Regions from separate parts of the Homo sapiens genome. Here regions 2 and 3 are each linked to region 1. The links are contacts of gene promoters, found by promoter capture Hi-C in human tissues and cell types (Jung and others, 2019). All regions are on one chromosome and are shown on one strand. The core of a region is centred on a gene start or on the middle of the fragment in contact, and the rest is flanking DNA. Distances in the headings are between cores, read along the strand shown.

Evidence for each region. The method cuts DNA at HindIII sites, captures the fragments that hold promoters and counts their contacts. A contact is called where the count stands out against the background at its distance.
Region 2: a contact is called between the fragment with the promoter of DHRS2 here and the fragment with the promoter of CPNE6 in region 1, in 1 of the 25 tissues and cell types used here (dorsolateral prefrontal cortex).
Region 3: a contact is called between a fragment that was not itself captured here and the fragment with the promoter of CPNE6 in region 1, in 2 of the 25 tissues and cell types used here (H1 embryonic stem cells and dorsolateral prefrontal cortex).

The regions. Positions count from the first base shown.
Region 1 is chr14:24,069,695-24,073,139 of GRCh38, reverse strand. CPNE6 (copine 6) reads right to left here and starts at 1,578. Exons shown (of 17, transcript NM_006032.4): 1 at 1,499-1,578; 2 at 36-207. The coding sequence starts at 203. CARMIL3 (capping protein regulator and myosin 1 linker 3) reads right to left here. Exons shown (of 40, transcript NM_138360.4): 40 at 3,411-3,445. The HindIII fragment of the contact is 9,770 bases long and covers 1-3,445 here.
Region 2 is chr14:23,635,012-23,638,361 of GRCh38, reverse strand. DHRS2 (dehydrogenase/reductase 2) reads right to left here and starts at 1,998. Exons shown (of 9, transcript NM_005794.4): 1 at 1,590-1,998. The HindIII fragment of the contact is 10,677 bases long and covers 311-3,350 here.
Region 3 is chr14:23,583,202-23,586,358 of GRCh38, reverse strand. No RefSeq gene overlaps it. Among named protein-coding and RNA genes, the nearest start is that of JPH4, 6.0 kb to the right of the region's middle. RefSeq lists an enhancer at 714-1,213. The HindIII fragment of the contact is 8,014 bases long and covers 1-3,157 here.

The DNA of each region.
Region 1 (3,445 bases), core at 329-2,828:
CAGGTTAGTTAAGGAGAAACCTGAGCTGCTCTCACCTCCACCCACTGCTCATCAGAGTAGAGCTTGAGCAGCACGCAGGGGTGGGGTTTGGTGAGTGTGTCCCGGTCCAGGAGGCCATGGCAGGACACCCGCAGCTCCACCCGAGAGGCCCCCAGCGTCATGGTTGGGGGCTCAGGCACCCATCCCATCTCAGGGTCCGACATGTCACTGTGGGGACAGAGCAGGTGGCCTGGACTCTGGAAAGGGAACACCTGCCAGCAGAGGGGTCTATCCTCTAGGGTCCCTGGGCCCCACCCCTTAACCTCCTTCCCTAGACCCTGGGGCCTCACGGACCTCCTGCTTCCTCAGCTTCACCAGAGTTCTGAGCAGGGGAGGGCAGAGGACCTGAGCCTCCCACTCCTGCTCAGAAGCCCTGTGCTGCTGGCCTAGGTATGCGTGGATGGGGCTGGAGAGGGCTGAAGGATTGGGGTGGGGATGTTCCTGGCAGTCTTGGCTCCTAGGCCATCGATTGATCTACACTTTCTGCCGCCTCAGCACCTTCTGCTATTTCCCGACTGGTGTTGTGCCAGCGCTGCACTCAGTCTTGGCACGAGGGAGCTAAACTAGGGCAAGGGGGTGGGGCAGGGGGTGGAGAGGCCTCTGGAGTTCTGAAGAGGATGGGTCTCAGAAGTGGAGTCTGCAGTGGGCAGGAGACAGGTTGGAAAGTCCCCTGCTGGGCTATCCCTATCCACTCCCTACCCCCATTCCCCTTCTGGCTAGCTGATGGAAAAGGAGTGGTGGTGGGCTGGGAGGCAGGACCAGGGCTCTGCTGAAAGCTCCTTCAGGCTCCTGGCAGGAGCTCTAACTGTGACAAGCCTCACATCCCTCCCCACCTCCCCTGTTTTCACACTTCTTGGCAGCACTGGCACCGTCTCTTAGCGACAGGATTTTTGGGGAGTCGTGGCTCCCTCCATGCTGCCCGTGGGATGCACGCATGCCACCTTCCCCCAGCAGTGGTACCAAGCCTCGGGCTGAAGCAGGCAGGGGTATGCCGGCCAGAGTTCATGGCCGGTCAGTCCATCTATCTGTGTCTGTACAGATCTCAGGGTGAGGCTGTCTGATCCCATGTCATGCTTCCCCGAGTGAGTGTGCATTGGTGTGTCTGAGTGCCCCACCCTCCGTGTCTGTCCCCCCATGTCGTGTGTCCGTTTCCAGGAGGGTGTGACAGTTCCTGTACCTCCCTCAGAAGTGGGACCTTTCTCTGGCTGGGTATCTACCTCCCCACAGTGTGTGCCTTTCTGGATATGTGAGGGAGGGTCTGGGCTGGGGGAGGGGGGTCTCTGCCTTCCAGCCACAAGTCTCCCAGTTCTTGGGGGTCCCCGAGATAGGCAGGGGCTTGTGGTGGTGAAGGGATTGGGCAGGGCTGGGATCTCTCTGCGGGCTCCAGGAGATGTTGTTATGGAGACTGGGCCAAGCTGGGCTGGGCTGGGGCTGGGCTGGGGAGGAAGGGTGGGCTCACCTGGGCTCTCGGTCGGGGGCTCCTCTCTCCGGCTCTCTGGCCCTGGCCCTGACTCCCTTGCTGCTCCAGCCGCTGGCGCCGGCTCCAGCTCCGGCTCTGCTGCTATTTATGGGGCCTGGATGGGGAGGGGTGGGGGGGGGCGCAGCACCAGCTCCCCCCGCGTGGATGGATTGGGAGGGAGAAGAGGGAAGGGGCAGGGCCACAGCCTGGGAGGGAGCCACAGAACCGGGGGAGGAGGGCAGGCTGGGGGTGGCTTAGAGGCAGGACCCCCACAGACACAGTGACACACATCTTCCCCTTCACACTACACCCACACCCAGAATCGCAGAGATGCGCACATTGCAGTGGCATGCACATACACATTCAAACAGAGAAATGATGGCGACACATGCACCCACGACTCACAGGCTCACACATATCTTGACACACACAGGCGCCAGTACATAAACTCACTGTGACACCACGACAGTTACAGCCCCCGGCGGATACACATTGGGAAACATACCCCTTCTCACATCACTTTCAACATTGTTACACTAGCTAAGGATATCTGCAGTCACATATACAGGAACACTGGGCTGTCCTTGTCACACATGTACTCACTCAAACTAACCCGGAATACAGCAGGATGTGATCTTCCCGTGCTCCTTAAAAGCCATCACATACCTTGCTGAACGTCATAGCTTTGAGAATGATGTCCAGTTCCCTAGCCACCATTTTATAAGGAGACACAGGAAATGGACATAATTGCTTAAGGACACCCAACCTCATATCCTGGTCACATGAGGGCATCTGCTGAAGGACTGACTCCCAAGGCTTCTTCCCGGTGCCACAATGTACCCAACACCCCCCAAGATTCAACCCATATGGCCTTACCCTTGTGGGAGGGGCTGTGCCATGCACAGATCTTAAGGAAACAAAACAAGTAATTCCTGGTGAAATCAGTAAGTAAGGGAAGTAAGCAGTTGCCTGGGGAGCTGCAAACCACACATGAAGACATTTGGGCACATTGTGGTCTGCGATGAGTACGCAAGAGCATTTACCTTCGCCCTCCATCCCCTTAAGCTGCTCATGTATTAATATAGCAGCCATTTATTGAGCATCTCCTGGGTGTCAGGCACTGTGCCAGGTGCTGGGGCTACACAGGTGATTAAGACACAGCCTCTGCCCCTGGGGGAGGCAGATGTATATGGAACAGAAAGACAGGCAGACAGAGAGAGGATAAGCCAATACGCATACGCAATGAAGCGTGACAGGTGCAATGTTATGGACCTGCTCAGGATGCAGTGGGAGCACATTAAAGCAGGGTGCAATATGGATGAGTGGGGAAGGCATCAGGAAGGACTTCACAGAGGAAGGGGCTTTTGAGTGGGATCTTGAATGCCAAGATAGTATTTGCTAGAACACCATGGGAGACAGCTACTTTAGTTGCTGACCTCATGCCACAGAGACTTCTGTTCACCTGCAAGCCACTCTGCTATTGAGACTTCTGACTAGTGAGGGTGCCCCCAGGACGACACAACATCATGTAATTCCCCCATTAGTGTGCATGCATGCACACACACACACACACACACACTGCTCCCGTGTCCCTCTGGTACACTGGGGCTTCCAATCCCATTACACCCCCAAAAGCTGGACAGACTTTGTGTTGGTTTCTGTCCTTTTGGTTCTTTCTCCAGGAAGCTCAGCCCTGACCCTGGGCATAACACCCATCTTGGCTTGGGGACTTATCAGTCCCCTTCCCTCGGCAGTTCTCTGTTTTTTTCTCCTGCTCCTCTCAGAACCCCAAGTCTATCCCTGTGGAATGTTTCTCATTTTTCTCCACTGTGGCCAAGCTCTGAGGGTTTGTGGGAAGAGAGCAGATTGTGGAGGCAGTGAATGGGGAAGATAGCAGAGACTCGAGGCAGGCGATGATTTTGTTTTTTTATTCTATACAAGAGGGGA
Region 2 (3,350 bases), core at 749-3,248, 440 kb after region 1:
CTTCAAGAATGAAGCCACGGACCCTCGCAATGAGTGTTACAGTTCTTAAAGATGGTGTGTCCGGAGTTGTTCATTCCTCCCATCCGGAGTTGTTCATTCCTCCCGTCCGGAGTTGTTCATTCCTCCTGGTGGGTTAGTGGTCTTGCTGGCTTCAGGAGTGAAGCTGCAGACCTTCGCAGTGAGTGTTACAGCTCTTAAAGGCAGTGCGTCTGGAGTTGTTCATTCCTTCTGGAGGGTTTGTGGTCTCACTGGCCTCAGGAGTGAAGTTGCAGACCTTCGTGGTGAGTGTTACAGCTCTTAAAGGCAGCGCGGACCCAAAGAGTGAGCAGCAGTGAATCAAGATTTATTGCAAAGAGCGAAAGAACAAAACTTCCACAGTGTGGAAGGGGACTCAAGCAGGTTGCTGCTGCTGGCTCGGGTGGCCTGCTTTTATTCCCTTATCTGGCCCTGTCCACATCCTGCTGATTGGTCCATTTTACAGAGAGCTGATTGGTCTGTTTTATAGAGAGCTGATTGGTCCATTTTGACAGAGTGCTGATTGCTGTGTTTACAAACCTTTAGCTAGACACAGAGTGCTGATTGGTGCATTTACAATCCTTTCGCTAGACACAAAAGTTCTCCAAGTCCCCACCTGATTAGCTAGACATAGAGTGCTGCACCCTTGCTTGTCCTCCTAGACCATGAGGAGGACCGAGAAAAATCGGATTTAGTGGCCCTTACCGACGCATTCTCGAAAACCTGTTAGAGTCCTAAGCATTCTCCTGTTAGTATTGGGAACTTACCCGTGTCCTATAAAGATGTTATGCCCCAAAAATGAAGAAGAGTAACCTGAGGGAGGGAAGGGGTCTCCAGGGTTGGAAAAGTGACACCTTTTGTCCTCACTTATATGAATAGGAAGGATACAATTTCTGAGGCTCCCCCTATCCTAGCTTCAGGAATAGCTTTTGTTAGACCTGCTTATCTGAGGAGGGATTCTAAAATTCCAGATAGTTCCCCCTACAACTGGGCTTTGGGCAAAAATTATGTCTTTCTGATTGGTGAGCCCAGGTGCCTAAAGAAGGTAACAGAGTCCTGAAATTTTTACTAGAAATCATTCTTATAAGAGAAATTAGAAAAGCACCAGAGACAGGGAGTGGTTTTTTAGAAGTGGGACTAGCCTAGGAGAAGAGAGGAGAGAGAAAGTTTGTCTGGCAGGCATTAGGACCCAGCGAGCAAGGGTCAGGATAGATAGGATAGATAGGTGAGTCTCACTTGGGCAACATGCCTTTGAGAGTTCCGCTCATGGCCGCAGGGTCAACCAACTTGTTGTGGGGACTCCGGAGCTGAATGGCTTTCCTCTCTGTTGACCCTCAGCTCAGCCCAGAAGTACAGGAAAAGCGGAAGCTGGTTCCAGGCAAAACAACATTCCCAACTCCACAGAGCCAGGGGTTGTTAGAGATCCCTTTCCCAGAAAGCCTGACACCCACGTTTTTAGTCCAGCGGCTGCGCTAGTCACTTTTAACTGGCCGACAGGTGCCCAGAATTTAGCCACCGAATTCTAAGGAAAAATAGGACAGAATAGCAAATGAAAGGGATCTGATGGTACTCACCACTTGGCGATAGGTGATAGTCTCACCGCTTGGTGATGGTCTCACCACTTGGCAATAGTCTCACTGCTTGGCAATAGTCTCACCACTTGGTGATAGGTGACAGTCTCTTCAAAGTCACCAAAATGTGTACGGAATTGATGGGTTCTTGGCCTCACTGACTTCAAGAATGAAGTTGCAGACCCTTGCGGTGAGTATTACGGTTCTTAAAGATGGTGTGTCCAGAGTTGTTCATTCCTCTCGGTGCATTCGTGGTCTTGCTGGCCCCAGGAGTGAAGTTGCAGACCTTCGCGGTGAGTGTTACAGCTCTTAAAGGTGGCACGGACCCAACGAGTGAGCAGCAGCAAGATTTATCATGAAGACCAAAAGAACAAAGCTTCCACAGCGTGGAAGGGAACCAGAGCAGGTTGCTGCTGCCGGCTCAGGCAGCCTGCTTTTATTCCCTTAACTGGCCACACCCACATCCTGCTGATTGGTCCATTTTATGGAGAGCTGATTGGTCCATTTTACAGAGAGCTGATTGGTCTGTTTTACAGAGAGCTGATTGGTCCGTTTTGACAGAGTGCTGATTGGTGCATTTACAAACCTTTAGCTAGACACAGAGTGCTGATTGGTGCATTTACAATCCTTTAGCTAGACACAAAAGTTCTCCAAGTCCCCACCAGATTGGCTAGACACAGATTGCTGATTGGTGCATTTACAAACCTTTAGCTAGACACAGAGTGCTGATGGGTGCATTTACAAACCTTTAGCTAGACAGAAAAGTTCTCCAGGTCCCCACCGGACCCAGAAGCCCAGCCGGCTTCACCTCTCAATGGCACACACTGCAGGACTTTGCGGCACCTAGCCCAGGCACTCCAGCAGCCCAGAGGGAGCTCATCCCCCAGTCAGGCCCAGCTGGCACCGGCCGGCCCACGGAGCCCCTGCTGGCCGGTGAGTGCCCTGTACAGTGTGGGCTCCTGCCGGCGCCTCTCCCTCCACACCTCCTGGCGAGCAGAGGGAGCTGGCTTCGGCCTTGGCCAGCCCCAGAGAGGGGCCCCCACAGTGCAGTGGTGGGCTGAAGGGCTCCTCAAGTGCAGCCAGAGTGGATGTGGAGGACGAGGAGGCACCAAGAGTGAGCAAGGGCTGCTAGCATATTGTCACCTCTCACTTCTAGTTGAAAAAGCAAAATCAACAGAAACTCTCATTCACTGCTGGGTAGAGGGTAAGTACAATCACTTTGGGAAATGATTTGGCATTATACGGAGAAGTTGAAAATAAAGATCTCTGACTCTGTAGAGGGAACTTGCATCCTGCAGACAGGAGGTCATGTGTGCACCAAGAGACTGTACACACAGGTTCAGAGAAGCCTGCTTAGAATGTTCCAAACTGGAAACAAGTCTGTATTAGTTTGTTTTCACACTGCTATAAAGAACTAACTGAGGCCAGGCACGGTAGCTCACACCTGTAATCCCAGTACTTTGGAAGGCCAAGGTGGGCAGATCCCTTGAGCTCAGGAGTTTGAGACCAGCCTGGGCAACAAGGTGAAACCATGTCTCTATAAAAATTAGCTGGGTGTGGTGGTGCATGCCTGTAGTCACAGCTACTCGGGAGACTAAGATGGGACGATTGCTTGAGCCCAGGAGGTCAAGGCTGTGGTAGGCTGAGATTGCACCACCGTACTCCAGCCTGGGAGAGAGAGCAAGACCCTGTCTCAAAAAAAAAAAGAACTACCTGAGACTGGGTAATTTATAAAGAAAAGAGGTTTAATTGACTCACAATTCC
Region 3 (3,157 bases), core at 567-3,066, 490 kb after region 1:
CATCAACTCAAGATGGATTAAAGACTTAAACATAAGATCTAAAGCCATAAAAATCCTAGAAGAAAACCTGGGCAATACCATTCAGGACGTAGGCATGGGCAAAGACTTCATGAGTAAAACACCAAAAGCAATGGCAACAAAAGCCAAAATTGACAAATGGAATCTAATTAAACTAAAGAGCACAGCAAAAGAAACTATCATCAGAGTGAAAGGCAACCTACAGAATGGGAGAAAATTTTTGCAATCTATCCATCTGACAAAGGTCTAATATCCAGAATCTACAAAGAACTTAAACAAATTTACAAGAAAAAACAACCCCAGTAAAAAGTGGGCAAAGGATATGAACAGACACTTCTCAAAAGAAGACATTTATACAGCCAACAAACATATGAAAAAATGCTCATTATCACTGGTCATTAGAGAAATGCAAATCAAAACTACAAGGAGATACTATCTCACACCAGTTAGAATGGCAAACATTAAAAAGTCAGGAAACAACAGATGCTGGAGAGGATGTGGAGAAATAGGAACACTTTTACACTGTTGGTGGGAGTGTAAATTAGTTCAAACATCGTGGAAGACAGTGTGGCGATTCCTCAAGGATCTAGAACCAGAAATACCATTTGACCTAGCAATCCCATTACTGGGTATATACCCAAAGGATTATAAATCATTCTACTATAAAGACACATGCACACATATGTTTATTGCGGCACTATTCACAATAGCAAAGACTTGGAACCAACCTGAATGTCCATGAATGATAGAATGGATAAAGAAAATGTGGTACATATACACCATGGAATACTATGCAGCCATAAAAAAAGGATGAGTTCATGTCCTTTGCAGGGACATAGATGAAGCTGGAAACCATCATTCTCAGCAAACTATCACAAGAACAGAAAACCAAATGAGAGGTGACAGCATGCTGGCAGTCCTCAGAGCCCTCGCTTGCTCTCGGCACCTCCCCTGCCTGGGCTCCCACTTTGGTGGCATTTGAGGAGCCCTTCAGCCCCCCACTGCACTGTGGGAGCCCCTTTCTGGGCTGGCCAAGGCCGGAGCCCACTCCCTCAGCTTGCAGGGAGGTGTGGAGGGAGAGGCACCAGTGGGAACCGGGGCTGCATGCGGCGCTTGTGGGCCAGCTGGAGTTCCGGGTGGGCGTGGGCTTGGCGGGCCCCGCACTCGGAGCAACCAGCCAGCCCTGCTGGCCCCGGGCAATGGGGGACTTAGCACCCGGGCCAGTGGCTGCGGAGGGTGTACTGAGTCCCCCAGCAGTGCTGGCCCACCGGCGCTGCGCTCGATTTCTTGCCAGGGCCTTAGCTGCCTTCCCATGGGGCAGGACTCGGGACCTGCAGCCCGCCATGCCTGAGCCTCCCACCCACTCCATGGTTTCCTGTGCGGCCCGAGCCTCCCCGACGAGCACCACCCCCTGCTCCACTGCGCCCAGTCCCATCGACCACCCAAGGGCTGAGGAATGCGAGCACACGGTGCAGGACTGGCAGGCAGCTCCACCTGCAGCCCCGGTGCAGGATCCACTAGGTGAAGCCAGCTGGGCTCCTGAGTCTGGTGGGGACGTGGAGAGTCTTTATATCTAGCTCAGGGATTGTAAATACACCAATCAGCACTCTGTGTTTAGCTCAAGGTTTGTGAGTGCACCAATCGACACTCTGTATCTAGCTGCTCTGGTGAGGACATGGAGAACCTTTATGTCTAGCTCAAGGATTGTAAATACACCAATCGGCACTCTGTATCTATCTCAAGGTTTGTAAACACACCAATCAGCACCCTGTGTTTAGCTGAAGGTTTGTGAGTGCACCAATCGACACTCTGTATCTAGCTGCTCTGGTGGGGCCTTGGAGAACCTGTGTGTTGAAACTCTGTATCTAACTAATCTGATGGGGACGTGGAGTCTTTATATCTAGCTCAGGGATTGTAAACGCACCAATCAGCACCCTGACAAAACAGGCCACTCAGCTCTACCAATCAGCAGGATGTGGGTGGGGCCAGATAAGAGAATAAAAGCAGGCTGCCCGAGCCAGCATTGGCAACCCGCTCGGGTCCCCTTCCACACTGTGGAAGCTTTGTTCTTTCACTCTTTGCAATAAATCTTGCTACTGCTCACGCTTTGGGTCCACGCTCCTTTTATGAGCTGTAACACTCACCGTGAAGATCTGCAGCTTCACTCCTGAACCCAGCGAGACAACGAGCCCACCAGGAGGAACGAACAACTCCAGACGCGCTACCTTAAGAGCTGTAACACTCACCGCGAAGGTCTGCAGCTTCACTCCTGAGCCAGCGAGACCACGAACCCACCAGAAGGAAGAAACTCAGAGCACATCTGAACATCAGAAGGAACAAACTTCAGACGCGCCACCTTAAGAGCTGTAACACTCACCACGAGGGTCCGCGGCTTCATTCTTGAAGTCAGTGAGACCAAGAACCCACCAACGCCGGACACACAAACACTGCATGTTCTCACTCATAAGTGGGAGTTGAACAAGGAGAACACATGGACACAGGAAGGGTAATATCACACACTGTGGCCTGTAGGGGGGTGGGGGGCTATGGGACGGACAGCATTAGGAGAAATACCTAATGTAGGTGATGGGTTGATGGGTGCAGCAAACCACCATGGCACGTGTATACCTATGTAACAAACCTGCACCTTCTGCACATGTACCCCAGAACTTAAAGTATAATAAAAAAAAATGCTTACAATGAAAACTAAGTGAATAAGTAGGATACAAAATTGTATATGCACTGTTTTTAATTATGTTAAAAGTACATAGAAGACTATATAAAAATATACTAAACTGTTATACAGTGAGACTAGGGGTGGTTTTAATTTTTATTCTTGATATGCTGTATTTTCTTATTCTACAATGAGCATGTTTTATAAACAGGACCCCCAAAATTGCATTTGTTAAAGCATATTAACTTGGGAGTCTGATATATATCAAGCTCCAAGGGCTGCCATCTATTAGCTGGGCAACATTAAGCAAATTAACTGCTGGGTCCCAGATTTCTCACCTATAAAACTGGCATAATGCCAATCTATTTTTCAAGCCATTATTTACTGGGCACTCACTATGTGCTGGACACTATGCCAAGTGGTTTTCCCTCCTATATTATACATATTATGCATACTTACACTTCA